Regions from separate parts of the Homo sapiens genome. Here regions 1, 3, 4, 5, 6 and 7 are each linked to region 2. The links are contacts of gene promoters, found by promoter capture Hi-C in blood cells and fetal thymus (Javierre and others, 2016). All regions are on one chromosome and are shown on one strand. The core of a region is centred on a gene start or on the middle of the fragment in contact, and the rest is flanking DNA. Distances in the headings are between cores, read along the strand shown. Region 1 overlaps EVC (EvC ciliary complex subunit 1). Region 2 holds the start of STK32B (serine/threonine kinase 32B). Region 3 overlaps EVC (EvC ciliary complex subunit 1). Region 4 overlaps EVC (EvC ciliary complex subunit 1). Region 5 overlaps EVC (EvC ciliary complex subunit 1). Region 6 overlaps CRMP1 (collapsin response mediator protein 1). Region 7 overlaps EVC (EvC ciliary complex subunit 1).

Evidence for each region. Contacts are between HindIII fragments. The CHiCAGO score rates a contact against its expected background, and 5 or more counts as called.
Region 1: a fragment that was not itself captured here is called in contact with the fragment with the promoter of STK32B in region 2 in 5 of 17 cell types (M2 macrophages, M1 macrophages, M0 macrophages and 2 more); the score reaches 7.2 in M2 macrophages.
Region 3: a fragment that was not itself captured here is called in contact with the fragment with the promoter of STK32B in region 2 in 7 of 17 cell types (M2 macrophages, megakaryocytes, M0 macrophages and 4 more); the score reaches 19.7 in M2 macrophages.
Region 4: a fragment that was not itself captured here is called in contact with the fragment with the promoter of STK32B in region 2 in 1 of 17 cell types (M1 macrophages); the score reaches 5.6 in M1 macrophages.
Region 5: a contact is called between a fragment that was not itself captured here and the fragment with the promoter of STK32B in region 2, in 3 of 17 cell types (M2 macrophages, M1 macrophages and M0 macrophages). The highest score is 7.1, in M2 macrophages.
Region 6: a contact is called between a fragment that was not itself captured here and the fragment with the promoter of STK32B in region 2, in 2 of 17 cell types (M0 macrophages and M2 macrophages). The highest score is 6.2, in M0 macrophages.
Region 7: a fragment that was not itself captured here is called in contact with the fragment with the promoter of STK32B in region 2 in 5 of 17 cell types (M2 macrophages, M0 macrophages, M1 macrophages and 2 more); the score reaches 15.9 in M2 macrophages.

What each region holds. Positions count from the first base shown.
Region 1 is chr4:5,716,069-5,718,768 of GRCh38, reverse strand. All of the region lies in intron 1 of EVC (EvC ciliary complex subunit 1), which reads right to left. Among named protein-coding and RNA genes, the nearest start is that of EVC, 6.2 kb to the right of the region's middle. The HindIII fragment of the contact is 1,981 bases long and covers 387-2,367 here.
Region 2 is chr4:5,050,060-5,052,911 of GRCh38, reverse strand. It overlaps STK32B (serine/threonine kinase 32B), which reads right to left and starts at 1,432. Exons shown (of 12, transcript NM_018401.3): 1 at 997-1,432. The coding sequence starts at 1,048. RefSeq lists an enhancer at 192-730. The HindIII fragment of the contact is 3,285 bases long and covers 220-2,852 here.
Region 3 is chr4:5,810,617-5,813,316 of GRCh38, reverse strand. It overlaps EVC (EvC ciliary complex subunit 1), which reads right to left. Exons shown (of 21, transcript NM_153717.3): 21 at 1-2,364. The coding sequence ends at 2,280. Among named protein-coding and RNA genes, the nearest start is that of CRMP1, 81 kb to the left of the region's middle. RefSeq lists an enhancer at 286-335. The HindIII fragment of the contact is 405 bases long and covers 1,248-1,652 here.
Region 4 is chr4:5,733,910-5,736,609 of GRCh38, reverse strand. The region is part of intron 5 of EVC (EvC ciliary complex subunit 1); the gene reads right to left. Among named protein-coding and RNA genes, the nearest start is that of EVC, 24 kb to the right of the region's middle. The HindIII fragment of the contact is 931 bases long and covers 977-1,907 here.
Region 5 is chr4:5,750,486-5,753,313 of GRCh38, reverse strand. It overlaps EVC (EvC ciliary complex subunit 1), which reads right to left. Exons shown (of 21, transcript NM_153717.3): 9 at 262-478. Among named protein-coding and RNA genes, the nearest start is that of EVC, 41 kb to the right of the region's middle. RefSeq lists an enhancer at 1-370. The HindIII fragment of the contact is 3,697 bases long and covers 1-2,828 here.
Region 6 is chr4:5,835,861-5,838,560 of GRCh38, reverse strand. It overlaps CRMP1 (collapsin response mediator protein 1), which reads left to right. Exons shown (of 14, transcript NM_001014809.3): 10 at 1,655-1,796; 11 at 2,476-2,646. Among named protein-coding and RNA genes, the nearest start is that of CRMP1, 56 kb to the left of the region's middle. The HindIII fragment of the contact is 3,228 bases long and covers 1-2,700 here.
Region 7 is chr4:5,780,810-5,783,509 of GRCh38, reverse strand. All of the region lies in intron 11 of EVC (EvC ciliary complex subunit 1), which reads right to left. Among named protein-coding and RNA genes, the nearest start is that of EVC, 71 kb to the right of the region's middle. The HindIII fragment of the contact is 1,426 bases long and covers 538-1,963 here.

The DNA of each region.
Region 1 (2,700 bases), core at 128-2,627, 670 kb before region 2:
AATGAATGCTCATTATTTATGGATTCTGTATTTGCCAATTCCTGTACTTGCTAATATTTATTTAGAACCCCCAAACCAATGCTCATGGCGCTTTTACAGTTATTCACAAATACATGCAGAGCATGAACAATCTGAGTTGCCCAGCATGCACGTGCTCAGTTGAGATGGAACAAAGTAGCACTCTGCCTTCTTGTCTCTGCTCTCATGCTGTAAACAAACATCCTTTTCATACTCTAGTAGCACAGTTTTTGCATTTCTGTGCTTTTTCTCGGTGACTTTACTGTTTAAAATAACCACCAAACACAGTGCAGAAGTGCTGTCTAGTCTCCCGAAACACAAGAAAACTATGACATGCCCTCTGGAGAAATGGGTGTGTTACAGAAGCTTCATTCAGGTGTGAGTTACAGAGCTGATGTCTGTGAGTCCAATGTTAATAAATTAAAAATATCTATTAAATAAGATATCTTTAAACAGAAACATACATAAAACTATGCTATGTATTGACTGGTTAATGGAAATGTTGTGACCAGAGGCTTGTAGGAACCTAACCCTGTTTTCCCCCCAGGAACAACGGTTCAGTGTTCGCTAATGCTGTGTTCTCAGTGAGTTTACAGAACATAACTACCATGAATAAGGAGAGTAGACTATATTTAAAACTCTGTTATCCCAGACACTTCTCAACTTCCCCTTTAATCACTACCTGCTCATGAATATAATCTTTGCACTAAAGAAACATCACCAGTTTGTCACTGAGTTAATCAGCTACTATTATCGAGCATCTGCTTTGTGTCAGGCCTTGTTCTAGGTACTGGGAATAGAGTAACGAACAAAATACACAGCCTCTGCTTTTGTGGCATTGACATTGCAGTGAGAGAAGAAAGAGGCAAACAAATGAAAAAATACATAGCAATTCAGGGACAATCATGTCCTAGAGTAACAGTGGAGGGTGGGGGAATGAAGGATGATGGGAGACAAAGTCTCTTGGACAAAGCGGCATTTGAGAAGGAACTTAAAAGAAGTGAGGCCATGAGCCATTGAGATATCTCAGGGAGGAGCATTCTAGAGACAGAATAGCAAGTGCAAAGGCCTTGGAGGCAGGCCCATGCTGGGCATAGAGAGAAACCTGTGTAGATGCAGCAGTCTGTCGTGGGTCTTGGGGTGGATGATGAAGCCAGAGATTTGGGGGGTTGTTTACCAACCATAGCAGACCAGTACAAGGGTCCTGCAAAGAAGAACCCAGTCAGATAGTCCTACAGTAAAGACATTGAGGAAAAAATATATATATCCCACAGAGGGAGCATCAGCATCACTTGAAAATGTCTAGAGGGTCACTAGCCATTTGAGGACAGACTCTAATATGAAAGATAAAATCCAAAACAAACAAAAGGAAAAAGCAAGCAGGGAACGCACTACACAGGGAAAAAAAACTTTAAACAAATAAACAACTAAAATATTATCAGAGAGATCAGAGAAGGTATTCCATTCATAAAATAAGGACAGGATAGAACATTCTCAGAACAAAAAAATGACTCTTCAAAATTGAAAATATGAAAAACTCAATACAAGTATAAAGTTGAGAAACATCTCTCCAAAGATAATGTAAAAAAGACAAAGAGAATCGAAGTGAGAGAGAAAGACTAAGATTGGAAGCCCAATTCAACCTAAAAAAGTGATAGGAGTTCTTGGAAGAAGAAAACGTATAAAAGGAAAAGAATCATCAAAGAAATCAAGAAAATGATTCTCGATCAAAAGGACGTTCCAAATGCCTGGCACCGTGGATGACAAATGACTTTCACCAACACCATCGTGGTGCAATTTCATTTACTAGGAGCAAAGGTAAAGGTTCTTTAAGATTCTACAGAGGAACAAAAGGAAAAGAGGTTTCGTGTAAGGTATCAAGGATCAGAATAGAATCAGTTTTCTCAACAGCAACCATGGAAATTATGAGATGAAGCAGAGTCCCCCCTTTTTAAGGGCCTGCAAATCCCTTGCCCTAAGCCTGGAAATAAAGGAAAATCCTGACTTTCTTCAAGGGAAATTATCAACAACTTGATAAGCAAGAAGGTAATAGTCGCCTAAAACAATAGCCAAGGAAGTTAGAGTCAGGAGATGTTTGGTTTCCCTGCAGAAACTAAAGATAACATCTTAACATATGTCCCTGAGTTGTTTTTCAGAAACCTGGACCCCCATCCAATGGATCCACTCTGAGGATCCATGGCTGAGGTCCTCAGCTGCCCCTTATCTGAGATCTGAACTCTGAGCACCATTCTTTGTTCTAAAGCTCTTCCTGGGGAGCCCAGAGGAAGTCATGACCAGGAGCCTGAGCTAAGGTTCTTTTCTGCCGAACCTACATTTTAAAACAAAGCTTCTCTTCCTTCACAAAATTGCAAATCAGAAAATCTTTGAATCTACCTCTGACCTGCAAGCCTCCACTTCAAGATGTCTGGCCCTTTTAGGCCAAAACCAGTTGTCACCTTCATGTATTGATTTACAATTTTGCCTGTAACTTCTGCTTTCCTGAAATTTACCTCTACCTTTAAAAACCTCACCTGGAAGTCATCAGGGCAGTCAGGATTTGAGCATGAGCTGCCTAGTCCTCCTGGCTTGGTGCACTGTGAATAAACACCTCCCTTTTTACCACTATAAAACCTCAGTGTCGCTATCTGGTCTTACTGTGCCAGGTGAGTGGAACCCAGTTTG
Region 2 (2,852 bases), core at 183-2,682:
ATGAAAAGGATGGAGTGAACACTATGTGCTAGCATGGCTGGAACATAGTAAGTGCTCAGTATGTCTCAGCTCTTACCTGGGGCACAGTGGAGACTGGCGAGTCAGCACAGTAGGAAACCAGCTTTGAGAGGCAGAGGGCTCTTAACATAAAAAACGGCACAGCTCGGTACTGCTTGCATTTATAAGGCACTTTTCACGTGGATTACTAGTGGTTAAGCTTCAAACAACCCTATAAAGTAGCTAGTGGTATCATAACTCACATTTCATTGATGAAGGGACTAATGTTTCAGAGAGGTGAAGTAAGTTTTCCAGGGACACGCTGCACTGGAAAGAGGGTTCTGCTAGTCCAAATAGGGAGCTCTATCGACCTGAACCGCAAGGATCCAGCCAGGAAGTTGAGATGCGGTTGGACAGCCTACACCACTTCTGCGCCAGGGGGAGGCTGCCCAGAACAGGACGCCCTCCTAGGAACCACAGAGTTTAGCAAAGAAAAGTTTCCCTCTGTCCTGGGTGATTGAGGAGAGCTGCATCCAACAGGCCCTTGCACGAGACCAAATGCGTCGTGGGCACGCGCACACACACACAGACACACGGTGCAACCCGCCCTTCCAGGCCACCTCCGTCAGCCTCAGGCTCTCAAGGAAACCTCGGTTTCCTGGGGAGCCCGAGCCTAGAACCATCCCGACTGGCCTCCGAAGTCAACTCCTCCCTTCCACACCCCCAAGTGCAGGTTTCGGGTTCAACTCTCTGAAGCCGCCTCCCCAGTCCCGCGCTAGGCACCGTCCCGACTACTAAACGGCACTGGGTACCTAGGAGTTGCCTCAGCAGAAGCGCCGCGCCTGGCACGGGTCGGGCACACACTGCATTCGCTGGGCGAAGTGGCCATGCCTGGGTCCCCGCGCCGGGCAGCATGCGGTGCCCCGCAGGGCTCGGCCGAGGGTGGTGGAGGAAGGGGATGCCCCGCGAAGCGGGAATTCGCACCTCTCGCTCTCTTACCTTCCTCATTCTCGTCAAACACGGGGGGCTTGTGGGAGTGGTTCCCGCCCATATTCCGCCGTTGCTGCCGCTGCTACATGCCCGGCCGCTGGGATGCCGGATGCGGGATGTGGGACGCGCGCAGAGATGCGGGATGCCGGGGGCGCGCCCAGTCCGGGTTGTAGCCGCGCGCGGAGCCCGAGGGGGCCGAGCACCGTGCAGGGGCGGGGACGGCGTCCCCCTTCTCCTGGACGCCCTTCCGACTGCGCTCGCAGGGACCCCGCTCTCGCCGCGCCTTCCGCCGTGCCCCGCCTCGGGCTGCGCTCGCAGCTCCTTACTCCAGTGCCCGCCCGGGAACCCGGGAGCTCCTCGCGCCGGGGCCAACGTGCGGCGCTCCTCGCCGGCTACAGCGGGCGGGAGACGCGAGGCGGCGCGGGAGCAGGGGAAGGAGGGGAAGGAGCGGGGGAGGAGGGGACGGACGAAGGCAGCACGCAGTGGGCGGCGGCAGGGCGGAAGGAGCTGAGAAAGGGATCGGCCCGGAAGAATCTGAATCCCTGCTCGGCCCTCCTCCCTCGGCCGGGAGCTCGGTCCCTGCAGGCAGTAAGCGGTTTGTCAGCACCCACTATGGCCAGGCCTCGGCTACGCGCTTTGTTAGCACCATCCCACATCCGCCTCCGACAACCCAGCAGTAAGAAAGCATCGTTCATATTTTAGAGCGCAGTAGACGGAGGTCTAGAGGTAGAGGGGCTCTTAGGTCTGTGGTTAGTCGGCCCCGGCTGCGAAGGGAGTCCCAGGACTCCCCGCTAGCCTGTATTTGCCCATTCATATTGGGATGGGCAGTGGAGTGTCTGCTGGCTCTCCAACCGACGCTGTTCCTCTTAAGGTTTTTCTCAGTGTTTAATGAATGAAAGTATCTGTTTACTTTCTGACCCCTTAAGATTAGATACTAATCTGACCCCTTCATTGTACATGGGGAAACTGAGGCCCCAGACAGCCATAGTTTGCCCCAAACCATTCTCCCTGGGAATGGCTGGGCATGAGTCTCGGGATTCCCCCAAAATTGGGCGGCATCGGCGTCCGATTTAGGGGCGAGGCTAGCATGAGGGTCCCTGGGCTCCTGCGGCGGGAGCCTGGATCGGGAGATACGCGCCACAGTTGCGGGTGCCTAAGTAAGGGGTGCGGCAGATGCGCCCCAAGACGTGTGGGGCGAGCGCGGGTTCCCAGGACGCTCCCTGAGGGACAGGCAGGTCCCCCTGCCTTGCAGTCCTGCGGGCCCAGCTCTCCGGGACTGCAGGGAATCTTTGGCTACATCCTGCCATCTGCTGGGCGCCTGGAACCACTGTCCGTGCTTTGATAGAAAGCAGGGGTTCTTTGTGACTCTCTCCATCCTATCTCGTCCCCCAGTCCCCGTCCCCTACCTGGTCTCTCTCTCCAGTTCTCTCCCCTTCTTTCTTTTTCTTGGGAGAAGGGTGAGGGAAGCCGGGGAGACTCATACAGAAACAAAACAAAACAAAACAAAACAAAAAATCTCTTAAAGGCAGTGGGAAAGAACTGAGAAGGTCTGAGGCAGGCCCACCCACCATGACCCAGAGCTGGCTCTACCATTTACTGGCAATGTGTCCCACTTTGGAGTTCTTATCTGCAAAGTGGGCTGATTGATATTAACTCCTTGGGTTGTCTGTGAGAATTATATCAGGTAATATTTATAAAAGCAGGCAACAGTGCCCGGCATATAATAAATGATGAATAAATATTTCTTGCCTTTCATTCCACCAACAAGCATACACTGAGTAGCCAGTGTGCAGCAGGCAATGCCCTGAACACAGAGCTGGCCCCTAGCTCAAGAAGCATAGGGCGGAATGTGGACAGGCATGGGC
Region 3 (2,700 bases), core at 201-2,700, 760 kb before region 2:
GGCAGGAAAATCGCTTGAACCCGGGAGATGGAGATTGCCATGAGCCGAGATCACGCCACTGCACTCCAGCCTGGGCAAAAGTGATTTCTATGCAAAGCAGGTTTTAAGAATATTGCACCAAGGAAGCCATAGCTTTGCACAACTCCATGGAATAACCAAGTTTTTTAGTGAACCACAAGAGGGAGCTGTTGGTTAACTTTGGAGAGCCCACTGGCTGATGGGTGAGGAACTGAAGGAAGCGCTCTGATGATTAAGTTTTGGCCACTGGGAAGGAGTCACTTGTTTCTAAGAGAGTCTATTTCAGGTTTTAAGAAATGAAAAGTCACAAATGACCCTGAAAATTCCTGAGATAGGGGCTCCCAGAGCCAGAGGGCTCACTAGGTTCTGGGGATTTTTGGACGTATCCACGGCTATGTCCTGGATTAGACCAGGGCAAGGCACCCTTTGACTCAGCACAGTGGGTGATAACCCCATGGACACGGGGCAGTGTCTGGAGACATCCTTGGTTGCCACGAATGGTGGGAGTGCTGGCATCTGGTGGGCAGAGACCAGGGACACTGGAACATCCTGTGATGCTCTGGGCAGCTCCTTCCCCTGAAGAATGATCTCGCCCGGTATGTTCACAGTGCTGAGGGTGACAGTCCCTAACCTCCATCAAAGGAGCAATTTTCCCTCCAGGTGGGAACGGCCTCTCCTGGCTGTGGTGAGAGGGGCTGGTCTGGAAGTTTCTCTCCAGGTGGGAAAGGCCTCTCCTGGCTGTGGTGTGAAGGGCTGGTCTGGAAGCTTCTCTCCAGGCAGGAACGGCCTCTCCTGGCTGTGGTGTGTGGGGCTGGTCTGAAAGTTTCTCTCCAGGCAGAAAAGGTCTCTCCTGGCTGTGGTGTGAGGAGCTGGCCTGAAGCTTCTCTCCAGGCGGGAAAGGCCTCTCCTGGCTGTGGTGTGAGGGGCTGGTCTGGAAGTTCCTCTCCCGGTGGGAAAGGCCTCTTCTGGCTGTAGTGAGAGGGCTGGTCTGGAAGTTTCTCTCCCGGTGGGAAAGGCCTCTCCTGGCTGTGGTGTGAGGGGCTGGTCTGGAAGTTTCTCTCCCGGTGGGAAAGGCCTCTCCTGGCGGTGGTGTGAGGGGCTGGTCTGGAAGTTTCTCTCCAGGTGAGAAAGGCCCCTCTTGGCTGTGGTATGAGGGGCTGGTCTGGAAGTTTCTCTCCAGGTGGGAAAGGCCTCTCCTGGCTGTGGTGTGAGGGGCTGGTCTGGAAGCTTCTCTCCAGGTGGTAAAGGCCTCTCCTGGCTGTGGTGAGAGGGGCTGGTCTGGAAGTTTCTGTCCAGGTGGGAAAGGCCTCTCCTGGCTGTGGTGTGTGAGAGGCTTGTCCGGAAGTTTCCAGGCGGGAAAGGCCTCTCCTGGCTGTAGTGAGAGGGCTGGTCTGGAAGTTTCTCTCCAGGCTGGAAAGGCTTCTCTTGGCTGTGGTGTGAGGGGCTGGTCTGGAAGTTTCTCTACCGGTGGGAAAGGCCTCTCCTGGCTGTGGTGAGAGGGGATGGTCTGGAAATTTCTCTCCAGGTGAGAAAGGCCCCTCTTGGCTGTGGTATGAGGGGCTGGTCTGGAAGTTTCTCTCCAGGTGGGAAAGGCCCCTCCTGGCTGTGGTGTGTGAAGGGCTGGTCTGGAAGCTTCTCTCCAGATGGGAAAGGCCTCTTCTGGGTGTGGTGAGAGGGCTGGTCTGGAAGTTTCTGGATGCTCTCAGCATCTATCAGGGAGAGCAGGTGCCCCCATGACATCTCTCTGCACGGGCAGGGTGTCTACTGTCCGGAAGAAGCCCCTCCCCAGGTGAAGTGAGGGTTGGGCCACACCCTCTTCCTCATATTCTAAGTGTCCTCAGAGAATACATTTCTGCAGGTGTCATTATGTATCTGTGTGTCCTCAGCCCCAGATGGGCCCAGACAGGCCTTTGGGCCAGGGATTCCAGAGTCTGCATCAGGGGTCCTTGGCCTGAGGCTCGGACCCCTCAAGACGTCCCTCCTTGGGGAGAAAGATCCATGAGGCATCGAGCCAGGGCTCCAAGCCAAATGAAATGCAAACTCACAGAGACGTGTTTCCAAGACGGGAATGCCTAATTTTCTCAGGTGATACTCATTTATGCTTTTAGGGCACATTTCTATTCTTTCTCTGTCCCTCTCAGAAGAGCCTAGAGATGCCGCTGTCCTCTCCGTCCTCGCTGCCTCTCAGCACTGCAGGAGGGAAGGTGGAATTCACACCCAGACCCAGGGCTTCAGGTCTTGTCCCACCGACTGGTCTTAAACTACAAGTTGCTTCTTCTCTTTAGCATCTTCTTTGAGTTCCCACTGTCCCCAGCTTCACTTTCTTGCTGACTCAGCCTTTTGCTGCTTAAAACAGAGAAGAAAGGCAGCCAGTTAGAACGCTGACTCCATGCCCATCATGATGCCATAACTTACCCAATCGGATTAAATGAAAATGCAGCCAAAGGTGATCAAAACAATTTTTACTTTGACATGGGTTGTTAAGAAACCAATAAAACCCGTTTCCCTCCTTGGGTAGGAGGTCATCCAAGTGCCATGACCACAGCCATCCCTGGTCAAAGAAGGGACTGCCCAACACTTCAGGCTGGATGCCAATGGGGTGTGGAGGTAGGTCAAGGCTCATCTGGCCAAATGAGACACAAACAGGAAGGGTAACAGCCATGTGGCACCCCTGGTATCATC
Region 4 (2,700 bases), core at 193-2,692, 680 kb before region 2:
AAGACATGAAGTGAGCATGTGCTGTTGGAAAAATGGAGCCAACAGACTTGCTGGATGCAGAGTTGCCAAAACCCTTCAATTTGTAAAAAAAAAAAAAAAAAAATGCAGCATCTCTGAAGCGCAATTAAGTGAAATGCAATAACGCCAGGTGTGCAGGCACAAAGTGCTGTGTGCTCCTCCCCCAGGGGTGGTTCTGATGTCACCATGGTGCAGTACCAAAACTGGGAAATTGCCACTGGTTGAATACTGCTGTCTACAGACCTTCTTCAGTTTTCACCCATCTTTATGCACATTTATGTGTGTGCATGTGTGTGTGTGTGTGTGTGTGTAGTTCTATGCAATTTTACCCCATGTATAGATTCACGTAAGTGCAGCCACAATCAAAGTAATATTCTAGCACCATGAGAACCCCCTAGTGCTGGTGCTCCCCTTTATTTAATCTTCCTCCATGCCCCCAATCTGTTCTCATCCTGGCCACTCTGTTTATAGAGGTTACACTCCAGCTTCTCCTGCCTCTTGGACAAGCCCAGAGCCAGTTTCTTCCTCCTCAGGGCCAGCCAGGGAGTTCTAAGCTTCTGGGATGCATGAGGGTCTCATGTGGTCTGAATAACTTCTGAACCCCAGCTCATCTCTACCAGGGAAACAGAGTATTTAAGTCTCCAGGCAGCACAGCTCCCAGCGGCTCACCAGGTTCTTACAGTCCCAGCACACGACGATAGAGTTATGCTCCCCAGAGCAGGAAGGACCCTGCTGGGAAGCAGCTCTTTCAGGGCGGTGCCAATCACACATGCAACACATTTCTCCTGAGCACCTTTAACATGCAGGGTGCAGGGCCACACCTGGGCATGCAGGGGCCTTTCACTCACACAGACCTTGTCCAGGTCTGATTCTGCCATCACCAGCTGTGTGACTTTGGGCAAGTGACTTAACCTCTCTGAACCTCAGGTTCCTCGTTAGTGAAGTGGCATGTAAAGCTTCAAAAAAGTAAAACATTTAAAGCACTGAGCCTACCAGAGTGTACGTGCAGAATAATCACTGCTGTGACCATGCCAGCCACACAGCTGTGATATGGAGCCCAGAGTTCTACCCACAGAACCCTCTCAAAGCAGGGCAGCTTGACTTCCCAGTAACTCCATATAGCAATAGCTGAAAGGATATTTTATTTAAGCCTTTCCTAAAGTGGCCCAGAGAGGTGAAGCAACTTACCCAAAGTCACACAGCTCCTAATTGTCAAAGGGTGGACTAGGGTCTAGGACTGTCCCTTAATCCAGTGCTCCTGGAACTTCCCTGGGTTTCCACCCACGAGACTCCCCACAGGGAAGCCTGACCATCTCCCCAGCTCTGCATTCCCTCAGGTGCCCCCTTCACACTCGCATGATGCTTTGTCACAGGCCTTTGCCATGCTGCCTGCCACCGTTTATTTTGTGACATCTGTTTACTGCCCTCCCCACTGCCCCAGAGAGTGGGCTCCACAAAGGCAGAGGCTGCCCCTGGGGTCTGACACAGTGCCTGGCAGTGTGCAGAGGCCACACCCCTGTGCTGGATGGTGAGTGATGCTGAACGCTCCCTCCAGGACTGTAAGCTGCTCCCTGTGGACACTCGCTGGCTGTGGGGCGAGGCCAGCCAGGACTACTCTGCTTGCCAACTGGACAGGCTCTGAGCCCAGAAACAACTGGTCCTCTCAGGAAGCATGGAGCCTTGGAGAAAACAGCCAGGGCCAGGTGTAGCTCACTGAGGAAAGCTGGACACAGGCTGCCTGGTGGCCCCCATCCAGGGACCTCCATGGGGCTGGGGATAGAGGGGGTGAAGGGCCATGCTCTAGTTCTTGAATTCTAGCATATTTACGGTTTCAAACATTGGCACCCGTTTATGAGGCCAGTCAGTCCTGCTCACACAGAGCCCAAGCTTCTTCCAGGCACATCCCCAGTGTGCTATTCTTGTTTTTTGTTTTTTGAGACAGGATGTCGCTGTGTTGCCCAGGTCGGAGTGCAGTGGTGTGATCACAGTTCACTGCAGCCTCCATCTCCTGGACTCAAGTGTTCCTCTCACCTCAGCCTCCTGAGTACCTAGGACTATAGGCACACACCACTGCACCAGGCTAAGTGTTTGTTTGTTTGTTTGTTTTTGTTTTTGGTAGAGATAGGGTTTTGCCATGTTGCCCAGGCTGGTCTCAAATTCCTGGGCTTAAGCAATCCTCCCACCTCAGCCTCCCAAACCCTGATATTATAGTCGTGAGCCACCATGCCTGGCCTCCAACGTGATGTTCTTGCTCTTCTCCAGTTTGTAAGAGTGCCCTGTAGACATATCTGTGTGTCTGTCCACCTGTTTCTAGCTCTCCTCTTTCTCTCATCTGCCTTCTCTCTGTAGGGTCTCATTCCTCATTCAGTAATTCAGAGAATGTGCCTTATGGAGAAATAACACTTTTTTTTAACCCCCGTCATCTTGATGCCTGAATAAACCCACCGGGGTTCTGCGGCTAAAGTGGGACTCCTCTCTCTGGCTTCCCATAGCTCAGGTCCGTGGCTGATTCAATCAGAGGCCAGGTGCATCTGGCAGAGACTAATGTTGTTTTCCCCACATCCACAGTTCTGAGTTCTTGTTCATTCAGTCAAGAGAACACGTGGCCCCATGAAAAGGTACTGAACTTCTCATCTCAGTGCCACTCCTGCAGCTTTATAACTTTGGGTAAATCCTCTGCCC
Region 5 (2,828 bases), core at 31-2,530, 700 kb before region 2:
AATCAGCCGGAATCCCTGGTGAGTGAGTGCAGCAGGTGACCCCTGCCCTGGGCAGTGGCCCTCATGGACTCTGCTGTACAGAGAAGGGAAGAGAGCCCCAGAGAGCAGCCCAGTGACCCAGTCCCTAGGGCAGAAGCAGAAAGGCAGCCTGTGCCCGGCATCATGGGCACACTGCCCCAGGCTGCCAGCCCTCTCACTGCACAGCCCCAGGGACCCAGAAGGCCAGTGTTGTGGACGGCGGCACCCATGCCCACGGCTCACCCCGGCTGAAGCGCTCTGCCTCCTGCCAGAAGGCCTTGTGCTGCTGCGTGAGCAGCTCCTCCTTCTGCCGCCCGGACAGCTTCCCCTCACCAGCCAGCAGCTCCAGGCCGTGGGAGATGGCAGCCAGCCGGCACCTGGTCTCCTCCTGGACTTGCAGCTTCAGAAACTCAATCACTTTTGCCATGTGCGCCCGCCCCATCGTCCTCTCCAGGGCGTCCTGCAAAAAGAAACACACAGGACCATAGCTGGGGTGTCCTGGGAACCACCAGGGCATGTTAATTAACAGCTGAGAAGAAGCCACCAGGGTCATTAACTAATGGCACTGCCTGGGAGAGCGGAGCTCAGAGGGATGAACTCCCCCTCTCCTTCATGAGCGAGATCTGCGTCTGCCCCCGAGGTGGGGATTAAGTGTCTCTCCTAGGGTGCGGGGAGGCTGACGCAGCTTAGCATGTAGGCACTTAGTCACCAGTAGCGCTCCCCAGAGGGCCACCCTCCTAGGAGGGAATCCAGATTTACAAACGGTCAAGGAGGAAAAGCCACCTGGCTTATAGTCATCTCCCCCGGCCAATCTGGCCCTGTGGCCCCCACAGGGCTGTGGAGGAAATGCAAAGTGCCAGCAGTTCCTGGCTTTTGTTAGAGCCCCAGAGAGCCTGACTGCTGAGGACGGCCGAGATTTTCAGGGGAATGATTGGCTTCCAACACGACTCCCCGCAGTCAGATTCTACAGAAGGCCCTCCCCAGCCCCACCTCATCATTTCAGGGACTCTCAGAAAAGACAGGGGGAAATGTCAACCGGAGGCAGCCAAGGGCCCTGCACACCTGAGAGCAGCTGCTTGTGGAATGAGAGTAAGGGGGAAAGGAGGAGCGGACGGCGGACGTTGGCATCTCCCTCGGCACAGACTCTGCACCCCCCACTCCCAGCCACGCCCAGCTCAGGCCTAGGCACCTCTGTGCTGGGCCGAGGCCACAGGCCAGTCCTGCTCCCCAGCCTCCCATCTCTGCCCCATGCTCTAACCCCACCTCACAGAACAGCGGACCTTTCAGAGATGCTGATGGTTCTGTCAGCCATGGCCCCAAACCCTCCTGTTGCTGCCCTGAGATCAAGTCCAGCACCCCAGGCATGGTGCAGGAAGTTCTGTGGGGCCCTGTCCTGCACACCTGCCTGGTCCCGGCTGCCCAGCCTCTGCACATGCGGGGCCTTCCTCCTGGAACACCCTCACTGCCTCCTCTCACTCCCCTGCCCAGCCAGGTCCTTCTATGTCCTCATGGGTTCTGTGGTCCTTCCCTGCTTGTCCCCACCCTCACTGGTCCCCTACTCTGTTCTCCACTGCCCCAGGGCTCCTGTCTTCGAGGAGGTGATTGTGAGGGGCAGTCCCAGCCTGGACTGAGAGCCCTTGAAGACAGGGGCCAGGCCTGAGTCGCCCACGTCCCCTTGACCAGCCATGGCCACACTGTGCGCTGAGCTGCACTGGCCTCTGTTCCCACAACACAAGACTAGGGCAAGAACATCCCCCAGCGATGGACAAGGACGGCGAGGCTCATTCCAGCAGCCCGTGAACCCTAGAGGGTGCAAGAGGATAAGCGGAGGTGCCAGGTGGGCCGCGGGAAGGGCGGCTCTGGCCACCTCTAAAGAGCATGTTGAGAACCCAACACAGGCTGGCTGGATTCGGCAGTGGTGGTGCAATCGATGTGCTTATATTGGAGGGAGGATGGAAGTGGAGAGAGTGGCGTGAGAAGAGGGATGTGGAATGGGGGAAGGGGGCCCTGATGTGCTCTGAGTGTGGCTGAGTCAACAGTGCCAGGCTCAGACTTGGCTCCCAGGACCTGAGCACAAGCTCCTCACCTGACCCTTGCCACACAGATTTGACATGAGGATTAAGTAAGTCAAAATACGTGAAGCATTGAGAACAACGGCCAGGGAACAGTGAGCCTCCCTGAGTGTCAGCTGTTTTCACCATTATCTACAGCCAGTCCCATCTGTCTTGGCAGCTGTTTTTTTTCCTGTGAGTCTCAAGAAACTGAATCTGATGACCGTCAGGGTCCCTTTGAAGGGCTCTTCCAGTTTTAATATTTACAGATGCACATTTCAGCTCCAAATGCCCAGGCCAGAAAGATGGGATGCCGCCCTGGGAATTCCAACTCTTCTGTGTTCTGAGATACGGAAGCCATCTTTTTTCCCTTTGGTGCCCGGTATGCAGGCATAGTGAATCCATCCCTCTTCTATACAAACATAGACTGTGTAGCCCTGTCCATGCATCATTACAGTAATTTTTTGCTGTCTATTTCTCCTGCTGACATGTGGCCTGCAGGACTCTAATGACTAACAAGTACTGAATGCTTCCTACGTGCCGGGCTCTGCTCTAAAAACTTTACATACTGCCAAGTCTTTAACACCCTCAACTACCCTGTGAGAGAGCAGGTGCTATCATAGCCCCCATTTCACAGAAAATGAAACCAAATCACAGAGAGGTTAAATTATCTGCCCAAGATCACACAGCTAACGAGTGGCAAGACTGCAGTGGGAGCTCCAGTTTCTTCCCTGAGCCTGCATTCCTAACCTCTGCAAT
Region 6 (2,700 bases), core at 87-2,586, 790 kb before region 2:
GAGGCCCTAGAGTCTGACAACGCCTCACCTGTCTGCTGTGGCCATCCTGGCTCAGGCCACCATCATCCCTGGCTTCCGACCAAGACTTTCTATTTCCACACGGGCCCACCCCACCCTACCCATCACAGTCTGCTGTCAGACATTTAGAACCTAGATTAGATCAAGCACCCCTCTGCTTGGAACCAGTAAGTCCTCTGCCAGTGAAACCCAAGTCCCTGCAACATCCAACAAGGCAGAACTCAATCCGGTGCACACGCCCTGACCAACCTCCCTCCCTGGGCCTCCTCTGCCCTTGGCTCCCTCGGTCCAGTCCCAGCTTCATGCTGACCCTGAACCCCAGGCAGGACCCTGCCTCGGGGCCTTTACACTCATGGGAACCCCTGGCTAGTTCCCTCTTTCTTAGACGCCACATGGTTTGCTCTGTGACTTCCTTCAGATCTTTGCTAGAAGGCTCCTCAGTGACGTAATTTTCTGATTATCCTCCTGGAAATGGCATCTCCAGCCTGTCCCCAGCACGCCTCATCCCCACCTGCTTTGGTTGAATCCCTGACACTCACTCTAACAGCGCCCATGTGCCCCATTCGCCTCTGCTTATTGCCAGTCTCCCCCATCCCTCAGTATAGCTGACACATGCAGAAGCTCTCTCTTTCTGATCTTAGATGCAGTCCCCATTCCTTAAATTGTACCGGGCACATAGGAAGCATGCAACACAATTTTGTTGAATAAATGAGTGAAGAAAACTTCTAAATATACTCCTCTGCATCTAGGCAATTGCTAACATTTCCTGGGCCTCTGGATTGGAGGACAGCCTCACCTTCCTCACCTTGCATTTAGAACCACTAATAATGGTCCATTCATTTTTTATTTTATTTTATTTTATTTATTTTATTTTATTTTATTTTATTTTATTATTTTATTTTATTTTATTTTTTGAGACTGCGTTTTGCTCTTGTCGCCCAGGCTGGAGTGCAATGGTGCAATCTCGGTTCACTGCAACCTCCACCTCCTGGGTTCAAGCAATTCTCCTGCCTTAGCCTCCTGAGTAGCTGGGATTACAAGCGCCCACCACCACGCCTGGCTAATTTTTTTTTTTTTTTTTTAGTAGAGACAAGGTTTTGCCATGTTGGTCAGGCTGGTCCCGATCTCCTGACTTCAGGTGATCCACAGCCTCCCAAAGTGCTGGGATTACAGGTGTGAGCCACCACACTCAGCCTGGTCCATTCATTTTATTGTCTTAGGTGTTCAGCTCAGGGCACCTGATATATCAAAGAGTATTTGTTTTTAAAACACCAGGGGACAAAAGGGTAAATCCCAGTGAACTTGTGCCACTTTGCTGTAACCAATGAATAGTGTTTGTTCTGCAAGCACAGCACAAACACTCTGGCCAGCCCTTAAGCCAACTGCCTTATGTCAAGAAGACAAATGTCAGCACACATTACTCACTTTGTAACGTGCAAAGCATGAGGCCAGTGACATAAATGGGGCATCCCTGACTTGTGACACGTGCAGGCACACGCTAGAGAGTCTCTCTTACCCACTGGCTTCCTTATCTATTCATTCATTCACTGGCTGTGCTGCATGTACCTGTCTGAAGTCAGGATTTGCCTTCAAAATGAACTAGGGTCTGAACTCTACCTTGTTTTGTCCTTGCCAGTGGGGACTTGCAGGTCACAGGCAGCGGCCACTGTCCCTACAGCACTGCCCAGAAGGCGGTGGGCAAGGACAACTTTACCCTGATCCCCGAGGGTGTCAACGGGATAGAGGAGCGGATGACGGTCGTCTGGGACAAGGCGGTGGTAAGGCTGGATCTCTTCTCAGGAGCATTCTAGAAACACTCTACCTGCCCTGTGAAAGCCGATGCATTATGCACGCTGGGTTCTTAAAAGTTCCCTTCTTACATGGAGGCGGAAGCAGATATACTAGGAGGGCGCAGGAGGGAACGCATAACTTGAGAGATAGTAGCTCAAGTCCGGGAGAGGCCTCTGCATTTGTGGATGTCACCCTTGTCCTTTACATCTTAAGATTGAAAAATGTTTTGTTTTGTTTCTCAACCACGTCTTAGTTCCTGTGGAAATGGCTCTGTAACGCTGTGTGTGTGCATGTGCACACGTGTTAGGAGTTGGGATGTTGAGTGGGTAGAGAGAGAATTCCTGTTGCAGAGGAAGAGCTGGGTCTCACTCTGATCACTGACCTGAAACCAAAGGTTTTTAATCTTCTGTTAAACTGGGGCCTGGTGACATGGACAAGATGTCATAGTGGCTCTTGCGTCAACATACCTCTGTGCGGTTAATTAAATGTCCTCTCTGATGAGGCTGGGCCTTCTGGGGTTCTTGATGATGGCACGTTTTTAGCTGGGAGAGGAGAGAATTCCAAGCCTTGCAAGGCCTCAGCTGGCAGTCTTCCATTTGTGCCCAGCTGCCCCTCCTCCTGGCCCCATTATGAGATGCTCTTCTCATCTGTGGGTCTTGCCTGTAGGCTACTGGCAAAATGGATGAGAACCAGTTTGTCGCTGTCACCAGCACCAATGCAGCCAAGATCTTTAACCTGTACCCAAGGAAAGGGCGGATTGCCGTGGGCTCGGATGCCGACGTGGTCATCTGGGACCCCGACAAGTTGAAGACCATAACAGCCAAAAGTCACAAGTCGGTAAGTCCTGGCCTATTTGTGCTGCTGAGATAAGTGATTCTTCGTTGTAATCAT
Region 7 (2,700 bases), core at 1-2,500, 730 kb before region 2:
ACCCTGTGTGGGGCCTGAGCTGCTCTCTGCCTCTCCTCCACAAGCCTCCCACAAGACACAAGGAGATCCACAGACAGGAACTCTCAAGTCACACGTATGCAAGCATGCATAGACACACATACAAGTAACTCCCCCACATGCACACACACTTGTACACACAGACAAGTAACTCCCCCACATGCACACACACTTGTACACACAGACACATGCACATGTACTCATACACATATGCATGCAGACACAGGCACATATACACACATGCACACACACAGGAACACATGCACACTTTCGTTCACATTTGATCCATGCACACACTCCTACATACATCCATGCATAGACAAGTGCACACATACACACATGAATCACACATAGACTCATACATACTTGCACACATAGACACACTCCTACACACACACACACGCACACACGCACAGCCTTGGGATGCACCCGTCACCTTAGAGCCCTCTCAACCCCACTCAGCCAAGCTTCACACCTGCTCTCCTCGCCAACCTTCACATCTGCTCTCCTTGCCAAGCTTCACACCTGCTCTCCTCCCACAGTGAGCTCTCTAACTCTGGCATCTCCTCAAAACCATCATTAGGGCCTCCCCTGGGTCACCATCTAGATTATTTTCACAATCCCCACTGGTCTCTTTGTCTTCCCTTCCACCCTCCATGCTTAAGTGAGTTATTTTCATAAACTTCACGTCTTATCATGAGTCCTCCTCAAATAACGTGGAAGACCTCTGTTCCCCTCACACTCAAGATCACCCAGCAGGGCTTCCAGGCAGCTCAGAGATGGCTCCGGCTGTCCTGCCTCTTGTCTTATCATTCTGTTGCCTTCATCCCCGCTCCCCCACCCCAATATCTTTCTAAAAATCATGAAAAACAAACCCACACCATAATAATAATATTAAACACCTGTGAATCCACCGCTCACATCTTTTTTTTTTTTTTTTTTTTTTTTTTTTTTTCATTTAAAACATGGAAGCGGGAGGCTGAGGCAGGAGAATGGCGTGAACCTGGGAGGTGGAGCTTGCTGTGAGCCGAGATTGCGCCACTGCACTCCAGCCTGGGCGACAGAGAGACTCCGTCTCAAAAAAAAAAAAAAAAAAAAAAAATGGAACCTTACAGATAGCTGCGCATGGTGGCTCACGCTTGTAATCCCAGCACTTTGGGAGGCTGAGGTGGGTAGATCACCTGAGGTTGGGAGTTGGAGACCAGCCTGGCCAACACGGTGAAACCCTGTCTCTACTAAAAAATATAAAAATTAGCCGGGCGTGGTGGCGCACGTCTGTAATCCCAGCTACTTGGGAGGCTGAGGCAGGAGAATCACTTGAAGCTGGTCCAGGTTGCAGTGGGCTGAGATTGTGTCACTGCACTCCAACTTGGGTGACAGAGAGAGACTCCATCTCAAAAAATATAAAAACAAACAAAAACAAAAAACATGGAACTTTACAGGTCAAGTTGGAATTCTTTATGGCTCCCTGCAATCCTTTTCCCTCCCTCTCAGCCTCAGACAGCCATCCCCATGAATGCAGTGACCCTCTCTCCAGTTTACAGGTCTCTACTTTCCCTGCATATCATGTTCATAAAGGTGGCTTTTGGTGTTTGTGTTCATTCACCCATAAATGGCATCTCATTGCATGTTTCATTGTGCAGATGCTTTTTGTTTTGTTTTGAGACAGGATCTCCCTCTGTCGCCCAGGCTGGAGTTCAGGGGCGTGATCACACCCTCGACTTCCTGGACTCAGGTGACCCTCTCACCTCAGCCTCCCAAATAGCTGGGACTATAGAGTGTATGCCACTATGCCTGGCTAATTTTTTATATTTTTTTGTGGAGATGAGGTTTTGCTGTGTTGCTCAAGCTGCTCTCGAACTCCTGAGCTCAAATGATCTGCCTGCCTTGACCTCCCAAAGTGCTGGGATTACAGGTGTGGGCCACCGCGCCCAGCCCAGAAGCTTTTTAAAGCCACTCCTTTTGCCCCATCTCCAATCACTTTTACACCCAGAATGGACTCCTCGCCCTGAAAAATCCCTCCAAAATAATCCCTTCTCTGGAGCCTCCCCTGGGCCACTAACATGGGCATTTCTGACCCCGAGCTCCCACCAGCTGTTTGGTTAGCCTACCAGGGTATCTAAGCCACAGTTTATCTGTCATTCCCCTAGACCACAGCTCCCTGAGATAGCGGCTTTGTCGCGCTAGGGTCTGCACCCACATCTCATATCCTCCCCAACCAAGCACGTGCTGGCAGTCCCTGAATAAGCCATGCCCCAACACAACTAGAGCACCCACATTCCCCTCTGCCCAGGAACTCTCCTCACATGTTCCAAAAATCAATTCGAGGTCTCCTTTTCTGGCAAGGCACTCTGAACACAGGGTCTCATTAGGTGCAATGTGGCTTAGCTGAACATCTGCTTTCCTTCCTGGAGTCTGGACTCTTGGTACGTGACAGGAAGGAGATGTGCCCGTATGACTGATCCCAACAGAATCCCTGGACTCTAAGCTCAAGATAGCTTCCTGGTAGACAACATTTCACACATGCTGCCACAACTCATGTGAATTAAGTGCATCCTGTGTGACTCCATGGGGAGAGGATTCTGGAAACTTGTGCCTGGTTTCCTCTGGATTTTACGCCTTGTAGCTTTTCCCTTTGCTGATTTTGCTTTGAATCCTTTCACTGCAGTAACTCTTAGCCAT